Linked DNA regions of Homo sapiens: region 1 is linked to region 2. Evidence: promoter capture Hi-C in 16 types of primary human blood cells and fetal thymus (Javierre and others, 2016). All regions are on one chromosome and are shown on one strand. Each heading gives the region's core, a stretch centred on a gene start or on the middle of the fragment in contact. The rest is flanking DNA. Distances are from core to core; before and after follow the strand shown.

Evidence for each region. The method cuts DNA at HindIII sites, captures the fragments that hold promoters and counts their contacts. A CHiCAGO score of 5 or more calls a contact.
Region 1: a fragment that was not itself captured here is called in contact with the fragment with the promoter of TTLL3 in region 2 in 2 of 17 cell types (monocytes and erythroblasts); the score reaches 6.4 in monocytes.

The regions. Positions count from the first base shown.
Region 1 is chr3:10,084,389-10,090,991 of GRCh38, forward strand. FANCD2 (FA complementation group D2) reads left to right here. Exons shown (of 44, transcript NM_001018115.3): 33 at 1,424-1,534; 34 at 2,746-2,876; 35 at 4,061-4,154; 36 at 4,440-4,562; 37 at 5,904-5,997. It also overlaps a transcript of FANCD2OS not described here. Among named protein-coding and RNA genes, the nearest start is that of FANCD2OS, 21 kb to the right of the region's middle. The HindIII fragment of the contact is 7,979 bases long and covers 1-5,597 here.
Region 2 is chr3:9,808,906-9,815,460 of GRCh38, forward strand. It overlaps TTLL3 (tubulin tyrosine ligase like 3), which reads left to right and starts at 1,357. Exons shown (of 14, transcript NM_001387446.1): 1 at 1,357-1,489; 2 at 1,716-1,804; 3 at 4,038-4,206; 4 at 4,343-4,440. The coding sequence starts at 1,757. ARPC4-TTLL3 (ARPC4-TTLL3 readthrough) reads left to right here. Exons shown (of 12, transcript NM_001198793.1): 5 at 4,038-4,206; 6 at 4,343-4,440. RefSeq lists an enhancer at 429-578 and a silencer at 1,059-1,538. The HindIII fragment of the contact is 3,571 bases long and covers 1-2,715 here.

The DNA of each region.
Region 1 (6,603 bases), core at 358-2,857, 280 kb after region 2:
TATAAATCCTCCCACCTCAGCCTCCCAAGCAGTTGGGACTGCAGGCATGTACCACCATGCCCAGCTGATTTTTCCTTTTTTTTTTCTTTGGTAGAGACGGGGTTTCGCCATGTTGCCCCCAGGCTGGTCTTGAACCTCTGGGCTCAAGTGATCCACCCGCCTCAGCCTCCCAAAGTGCTGGCATTAGAGGCGTGAGCCACCATACCTGGCCCAAATTCAACATTTTAAGTACATGAAGTGTATTGTACATCAACTATATCTCATTGAAGCTATGGTAGACCAAAAACCTGACACCTAATAGGCCCTCAGAATACATTTGTTGAAAGGAAGAATGACTATCACTGGTGATCAGGAAGATGCTTCTAGAGGAGAAGATCTAGGACGTCAGATTGTGCTGGGCCTCAAAGGTCAGGCAGAATAATTTAAATGTTGTCCAGGGAAGCCATTTTGGAGTTTTATGATCACAGCCATAATACAATGAAAGCAGTGGTTTAAGAAAACACTTCTGGCAGCAGAGTGCAGGACAGATTGAAAAGGGATGCAAAAAAGAACACTCAAAAGGTGTCACTATGATCTACACATGTATTGATAGGGGCCTGGCCAAAATGATGGTCTAGGCTTGGAAAGGAAGGGACAATATGAAAGGTAATCCAAAGATAGAAATGTCAAGACTTGACTCATTAATGTAGGAGAAGGGGTAAGTACCACTATGGGCTGGACATTGATTTAGCAGTTTGACAAAATTATTCCTGTATTTTTGAAGAAGACTACATATCTCTAAAATATAGGGAATGAAGGAGAGCTTTTTGCCCTTCAAAGTAAACCTATGGCCCAGGCGTGGTGGCTCACCCCTGTGAAAAGAAAGAGGAAAGAAGAAAAGAAACCTATGAAGACTTCAGGAAAGATTACTTTGGATGTACTTCAGTTTCTACTCTGATACTTAGAGCTGTGATTGAATTTGGTACTTCAGTACTTTCCATTTCAATTCTTTTTTCTTTTTTCTTTCTTTTTTTTTTTTTTTTGAGATGGAGTCTCGCTCTGTCGCCAGGCTGGAGTGCAGTGGCACAATCTCGGCTCACTGCAGCCTCCACCTCCCGAGTTCTAGCGATTCTTCTGCCTCAGCCTCTGGAGTAGCTGGGACTACAGGTGCCCGCCACCACACCCAGCTAATTTTTGTATTTTTAGTAGAGACGGGATTTCACCGTGTTGGCCAAGATGGTCTCCATGTGTTGACCTCGTTATTCGCCCGCCTCAGCCTCCCGAAGTGCTGGGATTACAGGTGTGAGCCACCACGCCCGACCTCTCAATTCTTTTTTCAAACCGTTAAACTATTGATGGTACAGACTGGAGGCCAGGATCCTTAAATACTATCCAAGTAGTTTTCCAGAAACTAAGCTAACCCCTCTTACCTTGACTTCCTTAGGAGTGGATTTTCTCAACCTGAAAATCAGAATTTACTGTATTCAGCCCTCCATGTCCTTAGTAGCCGACTGAAACAGGGAGAACACAGCCAGCCTTTGGAGGAACTACTCAGGTGAGTCATAACTACATAGCCAAGATTGTTGTCCCAAGAAACTCCTAGGAACAGGATTGGCAACTTTCTTTAAAATAACCTGGGTGTCTTTCAGTAGTTGTAAAGGAAATTATTTTCAGCTACTCTCCTCATATATGAGCTTTCTCATCTATGTATTCTGATAAATCCTGAAGTATTAGAAACCTTGAATAATCATGCTAAATCTTCATGAATGCATCAGCCCATAAACTCAGCCTTTTCAAGTAATAATGATGAAAACATTGACCATCTGTAATCAACTCTTGATTATCCAGGGACCTACTGTCTCCCAGCAGATTTGGGTAATTAGGCAGCAGCTAGTTATCACTGATAGCCTGTTTCTTTCCCCTTGTCTTGTAGGAAGACCTTATGTGGCTGAGGGGTAGGCAGTGGACAAGGGAGGTGACATGATCTCAGGGGCATGGCTTTCGGCCCCCTCCCCCTTCAGTCAGAGTGACTTGGTCTTTCTCTCACTTCCCTTGGTAACCTAGACCATCACTGGGTCAGCAGTCAGTGCTTATCATCCCTGTCTATAGGTCAGGACCTTATATCTTCTTTTTTTTTTCTTTGAGAGAGAGTCTCACTTTGTCACCCAGGCTGGAGTGATCCCAGCTCACTGCACCCTCCACCTCCTGGGCTCAAGTGATTGTACTGCCTCAGCCTCCCAAGACGCTGGGATTACAGGCGCATGCTGACACACCCTACTAATTTTTATATTTTTGTAGAGATGTTTTCGACATGTGGCCAGGCTGGTCTCTAATTCCTGAGCTCAGGTGATCTGCCTGTCTCAGCCTAGCAAAGTGCTAGGATTACAGGCATAAGTCACCATGCCCGGCCTGTGAACCCAGATTTTACAAATTATTTTCAGTGTATTGCCTAAGGCTTTAAAGAGCAGATAATTTATCTAGGGTTGTACATATTAGCGTGGTGCTTGGGTTTCTCAGCATACATGACCCCTTCAAGGCCAACATTCCATCAGTGGGGCTGTCTTCTGCCCTGGCTTTTTCCATACAAAGGTATGGTTTTCTACCAAGATGCTTGAAGAGGGTTGCTACTAAAGCACCTGAAAATAAGGAGGATTCTGATTAGGCCGTCAAACACTGAAAGGGACTTGGGCACGTCATGTGGATTTAAATATATCTGTGACACATAGGATACTATTGCATTTGTTTGTTTTTCTTGTCTCCTTACAGCCAGAGCGTCCATTACTTGCAGAATTTCCATCAAAGCATTCCCAGTTTCCAGTGTGCTCTTTATCTCATCAGACTTTTGATGGTTATTTTGGAGAAATCAACAGCTTCTGCTCAGAACAAAGAAAAAATTGGTGATGGGCCTAGATCCTTTTTTTTTTTTTTTTTTTAATGAATAGGACTAATATCTCACACTTACAAACTTTGGGCTTCCCAGGACATTTTTACATGTAAATCCCCACATAACCTTGGATAGGCCCTCTTGCTATACCAAGAAGGTCATTTTCCCAGAACAACCTGACTGATTTCTGCTAAAATTGCTTAGTCTGAGTTTGGTTAGACAAGCTGAGTAGATAGTTTTCTCTTTGGCTTAAGTTTAATCATGTTCTTCCTTTTCAAAAAAAAAAAATTTATCTGAGACATTTGACAAAACGAGACATAAATCATGAGGTTAATAAAGTAGGAAATAAAGGAGAAATCAGGGTCAAGTATAAAAGAAATACTGGCCTCTTCCCTGGCCTTTTTCTTTTTTTTTGAGACAGAGTCTCGTTCTGTCACCCAGGCTGGAGTGCAGTGGTGCGATGTTGGCTCACTGCAATCCTCTACCTCCCAGGTTCAAACGATTCTCCTGCCTCAGCCTTTCAAGTAGCTGGGATTACAGGTGCGCACCACCGTGCCCAGCCAATTTTTGTATTTTTAGTGGAGACGGGGTTTCACCATGTTGGTCAGGCTGGTCTCGAACTCCTGACCTCGTGATCCACCTGCCTCAGCCTCCCAAAGTGCTGGGATTACAGACGTGAGCCACTGTGCCCAGCCCTGGCCTCTTTCTTAAACTGTCTTTTATTGTAGCTCTTAGAATGCAGCTCATCCTAGTTGGCAGCACATCAGAAAGCAAGATAAAAATGCAAAACAAACCTTTATTTATCCCTATTGATTAAAAGGGGAAGGTTTGGTCTCAATCTTGGAGGTGACCACTGCTATTGGCCAGCCCAGGAGGAACAAGATTGGCCTTCCCACTGCCCAGCAGCATTCCTTTTCTCTGTGTGTCTGTATTTATGTTCATGTTTGCATGTTTGTGTGTTTCAAGATGGGGTTGGGGTGGGACGTGTTGAGCCTTAGGCAAATGAGTTTATGTCTGGCAAAAGGGCCAGTGGATCAGGAACGTGACAGCTTTTTGTAAGTTGCCTGTTAGACCGGGAACGTCTTAGTAAATCTAAACTAATAATCCTTTTGATCAATAATCATCCTCAAAAACCTGAAAAGCAAGAATGAGGTCAAGTTCCCATATGTAAGATTCCTTTGTCTTCTTTTCTAACAGCTTCCCTTGCCAGACAATTCCTCTGTCGGGTGTGGCCAAGTGGGGATAAAGAGAAGAGCAACATCTCTAATGACCAGCTCCATGCTCTGCTCTGGTGAGATGTTTGGTTTCTTCCAATGAGCCAAATAGCTTTTTTCTATTTTGCTACTGTTGTTTGTCAGAGACTGGACAAATGACCTTTTTAGTGGGAATTTGAAAACAATGAAGTAGGTTAAAAATGAACACAATTTGGAACATGTGGATCTTAAGATCCTCTGGTTCTGTTTTATACTGTTAGCTAACTGCTTATTGTTAATTCAGATCATAGAGGAATTAGAGGAATCTGTAGTTGTATTCTACTTTGTTAATTAGTGGGTCAAATATTTGACTCTCAATGCAGTATCTACCTGGAGCACACAGAGAGCATTCTGAAGGCCATAGAGGAGATTGCTGGTGTTGGTGTCCCAGAACTGATCAACTCTCCTAAAGATGCATCTTCCTCCACATTCCCTACACTGACCAGGTAAGGGAGTTCTTTCCTCCAGTTTTTCCCTTAAGATAGAATCATCATCAGGCTGGGCACGGTGGCACACACCTGTAATCCCAGCACTTTGGGAGGCTGAGGCAGGAGGATCACCTTGAGGTCAGGAGTTTTGAGACCCACTTGGCCAACATAGTGAAACCCTGTCCCTACTAAAAATACAAAAATTAGCCGGGCGTGGTGGCACATGCCTGTAATCCCAGCTACTTAGGAGGCTGAGGTAGGAGAATTGCTTGAACCTGGGAGGCGGAGGTTGCAGTGAGCCGGGATCGCGCCACTGCACTCCAGCCTGGGCAGCAAGAGCGAAACTCCATCTCAAAAAAAAAAAGAATCATAATCACACTGTCCAACGTATATAGCTTCCACACAACTGCCTTGCTCCTCCTCATCTAATTCTGATACAGACAGTAGATATAATCATTCATTCAATAAAGAGAGTCTGTTATGCATTCCTTTCAAGGGCTCTCAGCTAATATATTTGAGAGGACCATGGTGGTTTTTGTTTTGTATTGTTTTGTTTTGTTTTTGAGAAAACTTGTCACCCAGGCTGGAGTGCAGTGGCGTAATCTCAGCTCACTGCAACCTCCACCTCCTGGGTTCAAACGATTCTCCTACCCCAGCCTTTCAAGTAACTGGGATTATAGGCACCCACCACCACACCCGGCTAATTTTTGTATTTTTAGTAGAGATTGGGTTTCACCATGTTGGCCAGGCTAGTCTTGAACCCAACCTCAGGTGATCTGCCTGCCTCGGCCTCTCAAAGTGCTGGGATTACAGGCATGAGCCATTGTGCCCAGCTGAGATATTTTAGCCATCTTGAGAACAGGGTGCTCACATGTATGTCTCACTTAATGGGTGTGTGTCTCAGAATATCAATAGTTATCTTAACATTTGTAGTCTTTTCAGTTTATAAAGCACTTTCACTTTATCTCATTTGATCCTTTTGATAATTCTGTGAGGTTGGTATCATTGCCCCTATTTTACTGCTGAGGAAAATGAGAGCTAGAGAACTTCTCAAGCTTACACGTGCAATAAAATAAACATAGAACCAGGACTCAAACTCAGATCTTCTCACTGTTACTTCATTGCTTTTTCCATACTACCATAACACCTCCTTTCATAAAGTTAATTCCATTGTTTGACAGGCAATCTTCTTGGGCTTATTACTGAGTCCTTTCCGCTCCCCCATCCTCTTACTAAGGACCCTAGTGAAAGGACATTTAGAGAGGTAGGGAAGGAAGCTACTTTTGGTTCCTGGTTCTTCCCAGGTAGTTCTAAGCAGTGCATCATGGTGTGGGCACGCATGCTTTTCCCGTCTTCTAGGCATACTTTTGTTGTTTTCTTCCGTGTGATGATGGCTGAACTAGAGAAGACGGTGAAAAAAATTGAGCCTGGCACAGCAGCAGACTCGCAGCAGGTGAGTAAGATAATAGTCACTTCAAGAAGTGGACTTTGGATTACTTGGAAGTTGCTGATTTTTTTTTTTTTTTTTTTTTTTTTTTTCTGAGACAGAGTCTTGCTTGTTCTGTTGCCCAGACTGGAGTGCAGTGGCATGATCTCGGCTCACTGCAACCTCACCTCCTGGGTTCAAGCAATTCTCCTGCCTCAGACTCCTGAATAGCTGGGATTACAGGCATGCGCCACCACACCCGGCTAATTTTTATATTTTTTAGTAGAGACAGGGTTTCACCATGTTGGCCAGGCTAGTCTCGAACTCCTGACTTCATGATCCACCCACCTCGGCCTCCCAAAGTGCTGAGATTACAGACGTGCGCCACTGCGCCCGGTGGTAGTTGCTGATTCTTCTATGTCTTGGGTCCAAGTTTTCTCCTAAGCTGTTTTTTGTTTTTGTTTTGTTTTGAGTTTCTGAGATTCAGGATTTTTTTTCAAAGAGTTCCTAGTTTAATTTCCTTTCCCTCTAGTTAGAGGTGAGGAATGGGCTCTCTTTTCCTTGGCTACTGCCCAGTTTGCCTCCTGCTAACTGGCATGAGGTAAGCCAGCCTGTTTGAGATACTGTGGATCT
Region 2 (6,555 bases), core at 107-2,606:
GCCTCTCAAACTGTCCCTGTGTGGTCCTTCTGTGACTGGCAGGCAACCTGAGTGATAACAGGTGTTTAAGAGACAGGCTTTGGAGTCAGACCTGGGTTCCAGTGCTGCCTCTGCTCTGTGATTTGAGGCAAATTGTTTAACATCTTGGAGCCTTACCTCCCCTGTGACTTTTGAGGATAATATTTTGCCAGTGCTTCCAAAAAGGTTGCTTACAGTCTTAGCCTGGGGGCCAGGCATAACTGTTGTGAACTATTACATTTCTTTCGCAGTTGACTCAAATGATTGTTTTTCCATTTCCAGTTTCTGGGGAGGGTGTGCTCTGCACCTTCTTGTTACCCCCATATGCTGCCCTCGCTAAGGACCTTACCCTAGGCCCATCTGCCAGGCCCAGCAGGTCTGATCTGGCCTCACCAGGCTCCAGCCACCCTGGCTGTCTTGTAGTTCGCACAGAGGTTCTTACCCTTCTCAGGGCTGTTGCTGGGACTGTCCCTTCCCTGAAGTGCAGTTCCTCCCCTTTCCCTGGTGACTCCTGACTCCTGGCATTTACACCTTCAGCTTAAATGCGCCACTTTATCTAAAATGCGCCCCCTTCCTGGTTTCACCTCTGCTTGTTCATTGCCCTTATTATACCTGTAAACTATTCTCTTCCTTTGTTACTTGCTTTTTATTCCCCTCACACTGGGCTTTTAGTAAGCTCCATGAGGTCAGGGGCCATTTGTTAGCGCCTATAAATACTGTGGAATCACTCAAACCCTAGGGCCGGTGGCACCAGGAAGTACTGGATAAGGAACCGCAACACTAACTAACTGGGGCTCAGTGCTCTCTTCCGCCTTCAGTGCCCTGCTCATCAAGGGTCTGGGTGAGGCCCCAGGTCATAAGGAAGCCCTCGCTCGACTGCCCCGGGGCCCATCGCAGCCCCCAACCAGCCCCGAGCGGTCTGATGGTGCCCAGGGAATGGTTTCCAAGGCAATAGCAAACGGGGCGGGGCTTGGAACGGAGGACAAGGCTCGAGCCTAGGCAGGAACTTCCCGGGAGAGGAGGCGGCGACGCGGAGGGGCGCGGGATCAGGGGCCCTGGGAGGGCGAGCGCGGCGAGGGGCGCATGCAGGGCCCCGACGCGCCACTGCTCCTGAGCGCGAGGGAGCTGGGGCCCGGGCGCCGGGGCTCGGCCTCCTGGTACCGCCAGGAGGGCGGCGCGGTGTGCAACTGGCTGCGGAAGCCGCAGCCGCTCGAGCCACGCACCAGTTTCCCCTCGGCGCGCCGCTCCGAGTTCCGTCCACCCAGGAGGCTGCCATGGGCCGGCCCTGCCTCCGCCCAGTCCGAGGAGGGTCACGCAGGCGGCAGATGCCAGGCGGGCAGCCCCGCCCCTGCGCGCCGCCTCAGCGGCGCCTTCAAGACGCTGGTCCCAGGCACCCACGCCCAGGGCGCCTCGGATACCCACCCCCTCGGCCCCCCGCACACCCCGGTCCTCGACCCCTCTCCGCAGGATGGTGAGGCCCGTGCGGCCCGCTCGCTCTGGCCTACAGCGGCTGCGAGGACGACAAGACGCTGGGGTGGAGGGACTGGGGGTCGGGAGAAGAGCGGCTGAGGGTGGGCATCTGGATGAAGGCAGGAGGAAGAAAAGAGGCGTGGCTATGGGCGGCCAGAAAAGATCCTAGGCCGAGACCCTAGGCCCAGCCTCAGTGTACCCCGCCCCTATTCCGCATCTTTCTGCAGGTTTCCCGGTCCTCTGGCGAGGATCCTCCAAGGCGTCTCACATGAACCGGCTCAGAAACGCCAAAATCTACGTGGAGAGAGCTGTCAAGGTCAGAGGAGGGGCAGGGGCGCTTAGAAAGGGCCCTGGGAGCGGCTCAGCCTGTCTCCCTGCGCTGTTTTCTTATATCCTTAAAAAACAAAAGCAAAAGAAAAAACAATAGCAAAAATCCTCAACCACCACACCCATCTTCAACTACCTCCCCGTTTACCCCTTCAGCACCAAACTTCTGGGCTCCCTCCACTCTGGTTCCCTGCGATGTCCCACTCTAATCAAGGTGCCTGGTGAGTTCCAGGGAGCCAAACCCAGCAGTGCCTTTCGGTCTTGATCTCGGTTGGGCACCCTGTATCTTTCGACACCGCTGCCCCACACACCCTTCCTCTTGGCTGTCTGACTGCACGCTCCTAGTTTTCCTTTCTCCCTCTTTGGCTGCTGCTTTTCAGCGGCCTTTAAAGGTTCCTCAGCCATTAGTGGCCCCCTGGCCCCTTCCCCAGGTCTGTCTCCTTTGGCTGTGTCCTTGGCTGAGTCCAGTCAGTGTGCTGCACCCTCTCCGTGCCCCTTCCAGCCCAGCCTCGAACTCCACATCCCGTAGATCTAGCCCCTACCTGTCATCTACACCCAGAAAACTTAACAAGCATTTCAAATTCATGTCCCAAACCAGACTTTGATCTTCCTGCCCAAACCTGTCGTCCTCCCCAGTCTCCAGTCTTTCCCATCTCTCAGTTCCTCACGCCAGAAATCTCATCTTTCTGTTTCTTCACCCACAGGTCTAATTCCATCAGCAAAACCACTTGTCATCTCCACCTCCAAAACGATTCTCAACTCTAGCACCTTCTCCCGTCTGTGTTGTAACCACCTTCATTTTAGTAATTGTGATTTCTCTCCTAGGCAAACTATGACAGCCTCCTAGCTGGTCTACCTCCATCCTGTCCCCTCATCTTTTTGTAATACAGCAGCAAGCCAAGCTTAGAAAGATTCCCTCAGTTAGCCTTTTTTGCTCATGACACTCTTAGTATGAAATCCAAGTCCGTTCCAAGGCCTGCAGGGCCTTCCACAGTCTGGCCACTGCCTACCTCCTCTGGGGCTTTCCCCATCATTTTCCATGTTCCACTCACTCTGGTCTCCCTTCAGTTCCTTCTGACCTCTCTCCAGCCTCAAGGCCTTTGCACATGCATTCCCCTCTGCCTGAACCGCCATTTCCCAGCTCTGTACATTCATGGCTTCCTTTCAACCTTCCCTGACCATGTATTTCTAAGTAGTTTCTCTGGATCCCATTAAGTATGCAGTTTCTGGAGCCAAACTGCCAGGATGTAAATCCCTGCTCTTTTGCTTAACCACTATGGGGCCTCAGGCACCCTGCTTAATTTCTCTATGCCTCTGTTTCATAGCCCGTAAAATGGAGATAACAGTATCTAATAAAAATGCATAGTATTGGCCAGACGCGGTGGCTTACACCTGTAATCCCAGCATTTTGGGAGGCCAAGTCAGGAGGATCACTTGAGGCCAGGAGTTGGAGACCAGCCTGGCCAACACAGTGAAGCCCAGTCTCTACCAAAAAATATAAAAATTATTTGGGCACCAGATGAGGTGGCTGACGCCTGTAATTTCAGCACTTTGGGAGGCCAAGGCGGGCCTTGGCCTGAGGCCAGGAGTTCAAGACCAGCGTGGCCAATATGGTGAAACCCTGTCTCTACTAAAAATACAAAAATTAGCCGGGCGCAGTGGCACACGCCTGTACTCCCAGCTACTGGGGAGGCTGAGGCAGGAGAATCGCTCGAACCCGGGAGGTGGAGGTTGCAGTGAGCCAAGATTGTGCCACTCCAGCCTGGGCAACAGAGCAAGACTCCGTCTCAAAAAAAAAAAATTATCTGGGCGTGGTGGCATACACCTGTAATCCCAGGTACTCAAGGAGACTGAGGCAAGAGAATCGCTTGAACCCAGGAGGAAGAGGGTGCAGTGAGCCGAGATTGTGCCACTACACTTCAGCCTGGGCAACAGAGTGAGACCCTGTCTCAAACAAAACAAAATAAAAACACACAGTATTGTTAGTAATGCATGTAAGTGCTCAGCATGTAGTAGGTCCTCAATAAATATTAGCCATTGCTATTATCATTATTACCATGCATATTTATTTCTCTACTTATTTATAGTCTGTTTATTTCTCCTAATGGAATATAAAAATTTCCTGATGGCAGAGTCCATAACTGTCTGGTTCACCTTTATATCCCCTATGTCTGGCACTTATGCAATACTTATTGAAGAAGTATCCTTCTCTCACATTGCAGCAGAAGAAGATCTTTACAATCCAAGGCTGCTACCCGGTGATCCGGTGTCTCTTGCGCCGGAGGGGCTGGGTGGAGAAGAAGATGGTCCATCGCTCAGGCCCCACCCTGCTGCCACCCCAGAAGGATCTGGATAGCTCAGCGATGGGTGACAGTGACACCACTGAGGATGGTGAGTGGTTCCTTCCCTTTCCACAGCTGTTGCTCCTGAGTCCTTTTCCTTTGGTTCCCACTGTCCCAGAGTTGAGGCCTTATGGGCTATGGGTCAGGGAGAGGAAACTCATCAGCTCTGGGCTCTGCATCCACAGAGGATGAAGATGAGGACGAGGAGTTCCAGCCATCACAGCTGTTCGACTTCGATGATTTACTGAAATTTGATGACCTAGATGGAACACATGCTCTGATGGTGAGGGCCCTGGGGGCCAAGATGATACAGGGACTGCCTGCTTAGAGGGAGGGCATTGGTGTCCAGCTGGGTGACCTCAGACAAGTCCTTTCTTTCTCTGGGCCACAGTTTCCCTATCTGTAGTAAAAACTGCTTCTTTAAAGGCTGGATAGAGCTGGACATGGTGGCTCATGCCTGTGGTCCCAGCTACTCAGGAGGCCAAGGTGGGAGGATAACTTGAGGCTAGGAGTTCAAGACCAGCCTGGGCAACATAGTAAGACTCAGTCTCTACAAAAAAAGGTAGAAAAACATTATCCGGGTGTGGTGGCATGTACCTGTAGTCCCAGCTACTCGGGAGGCTAAGGTGGGAGGATCACTTGAACCTGGGAATTACAGGCTGCAGTGAGCTATGATCGCACCATTGCACTCCAACCTGGGCAGCAAAGCAAGACTCTATCTCTAAAAAAGAAATAAGTGAATAAAGGCTAGATAGGCCCACAGAGTGGGGAGGGACACAGCAGGGCTGTGTCCCATCTGGCCTGGGATTCAGAGCTCTGCTAGGTCATACCAGATGCCAGCACAGCCGCCATGCATGGTAACTCCCCCTTCAAATAAAAACCCCATAGTTCCCCTTCCCCGCTGCCCTTGGTAAGTGAAGGCAGGAAGGAAGGTCTTAAAAAGCTCTGGAAGAGACGGAGCGGGGTGGCTTATACCTGTAATCCCAGCACTTTTTGGGAGGCCGAGGCGGGCAGATTCCTTGAGGTCAGGAGTTCGAGACCAGCCTGGCCAACGTGGTGAAAACCCATCTCTACTAAAAAAACAAACAAATAAAAAAACAAACAAATAACAACAACAACAAAAAGTAGCTGACTGTGGTGGCAGGCGCCTGTAATCCCAGCTACTCGGGAAGCTGAGGCAGGAGAATCACTTGAACCCAGGAGGTGGAAGTTGCAGTGAACTGAGATCACGCCACTGCACCCCAGCCTGGGTGACAGAGCGAGACTCCGTCTGAAAAAATAAATAAATAAAATAAAATAAAGGCCAGGAGCAGTGGCTCACACCTGTAATCCCAGCACTTTGGGAGGCCGAGGCTGATGGATCACCTGAGGTCAGGAGTTCAAGACCAACCGGGCCAACATGGTGAAACCCTGTCTCTACTAAAAAAATAGAAAAATTAGCTGGGTGTAGTGGTGTATGCCTGTAATCACAGCTACTTGGGAGGCTGAGGCAGGAGAATTGCTTGAATCTGGGTAGCAAAGGTTGCAGTGAGCTGAGATCGCGCCACTGCACTCCAGCCTGGGCGACAGAGTGAGACTCTGTCTCAAAAATAAAATAAAAATACAAAAATTAGCCAGGCATGGTGGCGGGCGCCTGTAATCCCAGCTACTCGGGAGGCTGAGGTGTGAGAATTGCTTGAACGTGGGAGGTGGAGGTTGTAGTGAGCTGAAATTGCGCCACTGCACTTCAGCCTGGGTGACAGAACAAGCGATAACTCCATCTGAAAATAAAGAAAAAAGGTTGAAAGAGTCGGTGTGATGATGTGGAGGACATGCACGTTGAGGTGAGGGCCCTTGGGTTTCCATCTTGGTAGTGCCACTTACTGAGTTCAAATATATAAAATTGCCATTTCTGGCCGGGCATGGTGGGTCATGCCTGTAATCGCAGCACTTTGGGAGGCCAAGGCGGGTGGATTATTTGAGGTCAGGAGTTCGAGACCAGCCTGGGGAACATGGTGAAACCCCGCCTCTACTAAAAATACAAAAAAATTAGCTGGGCCTGGTGGCGCACACCTGTAATCCCAGCTACTAGGGAGGCTGAGGCAGAAGAATCAACTTGAACCCAGGAGACGGAGCTTGCAGTGAGCCAAGATCACGCCACTGCACTCCAGCCTGGGCGACAAGAGTCAGACTCCATCTCAAAAAAAAAAAAAAGCCATTTCTGTATGTCAGGAATGGCTGAATATTGGCAGCTTCATATGGGTCAATCTCATGAGCCCTTGGGCAAGTCACTTGCCTTCCTGTGCCTCAGTTTCCTCATCTGTAAAACAGAGATAACCTTAGCCCCTACCACATAGAATTATGGTGAATGAATTGACGTGGAAAGTGCTTAGAGCAGGGCCCAGCATGGGCTGACGCT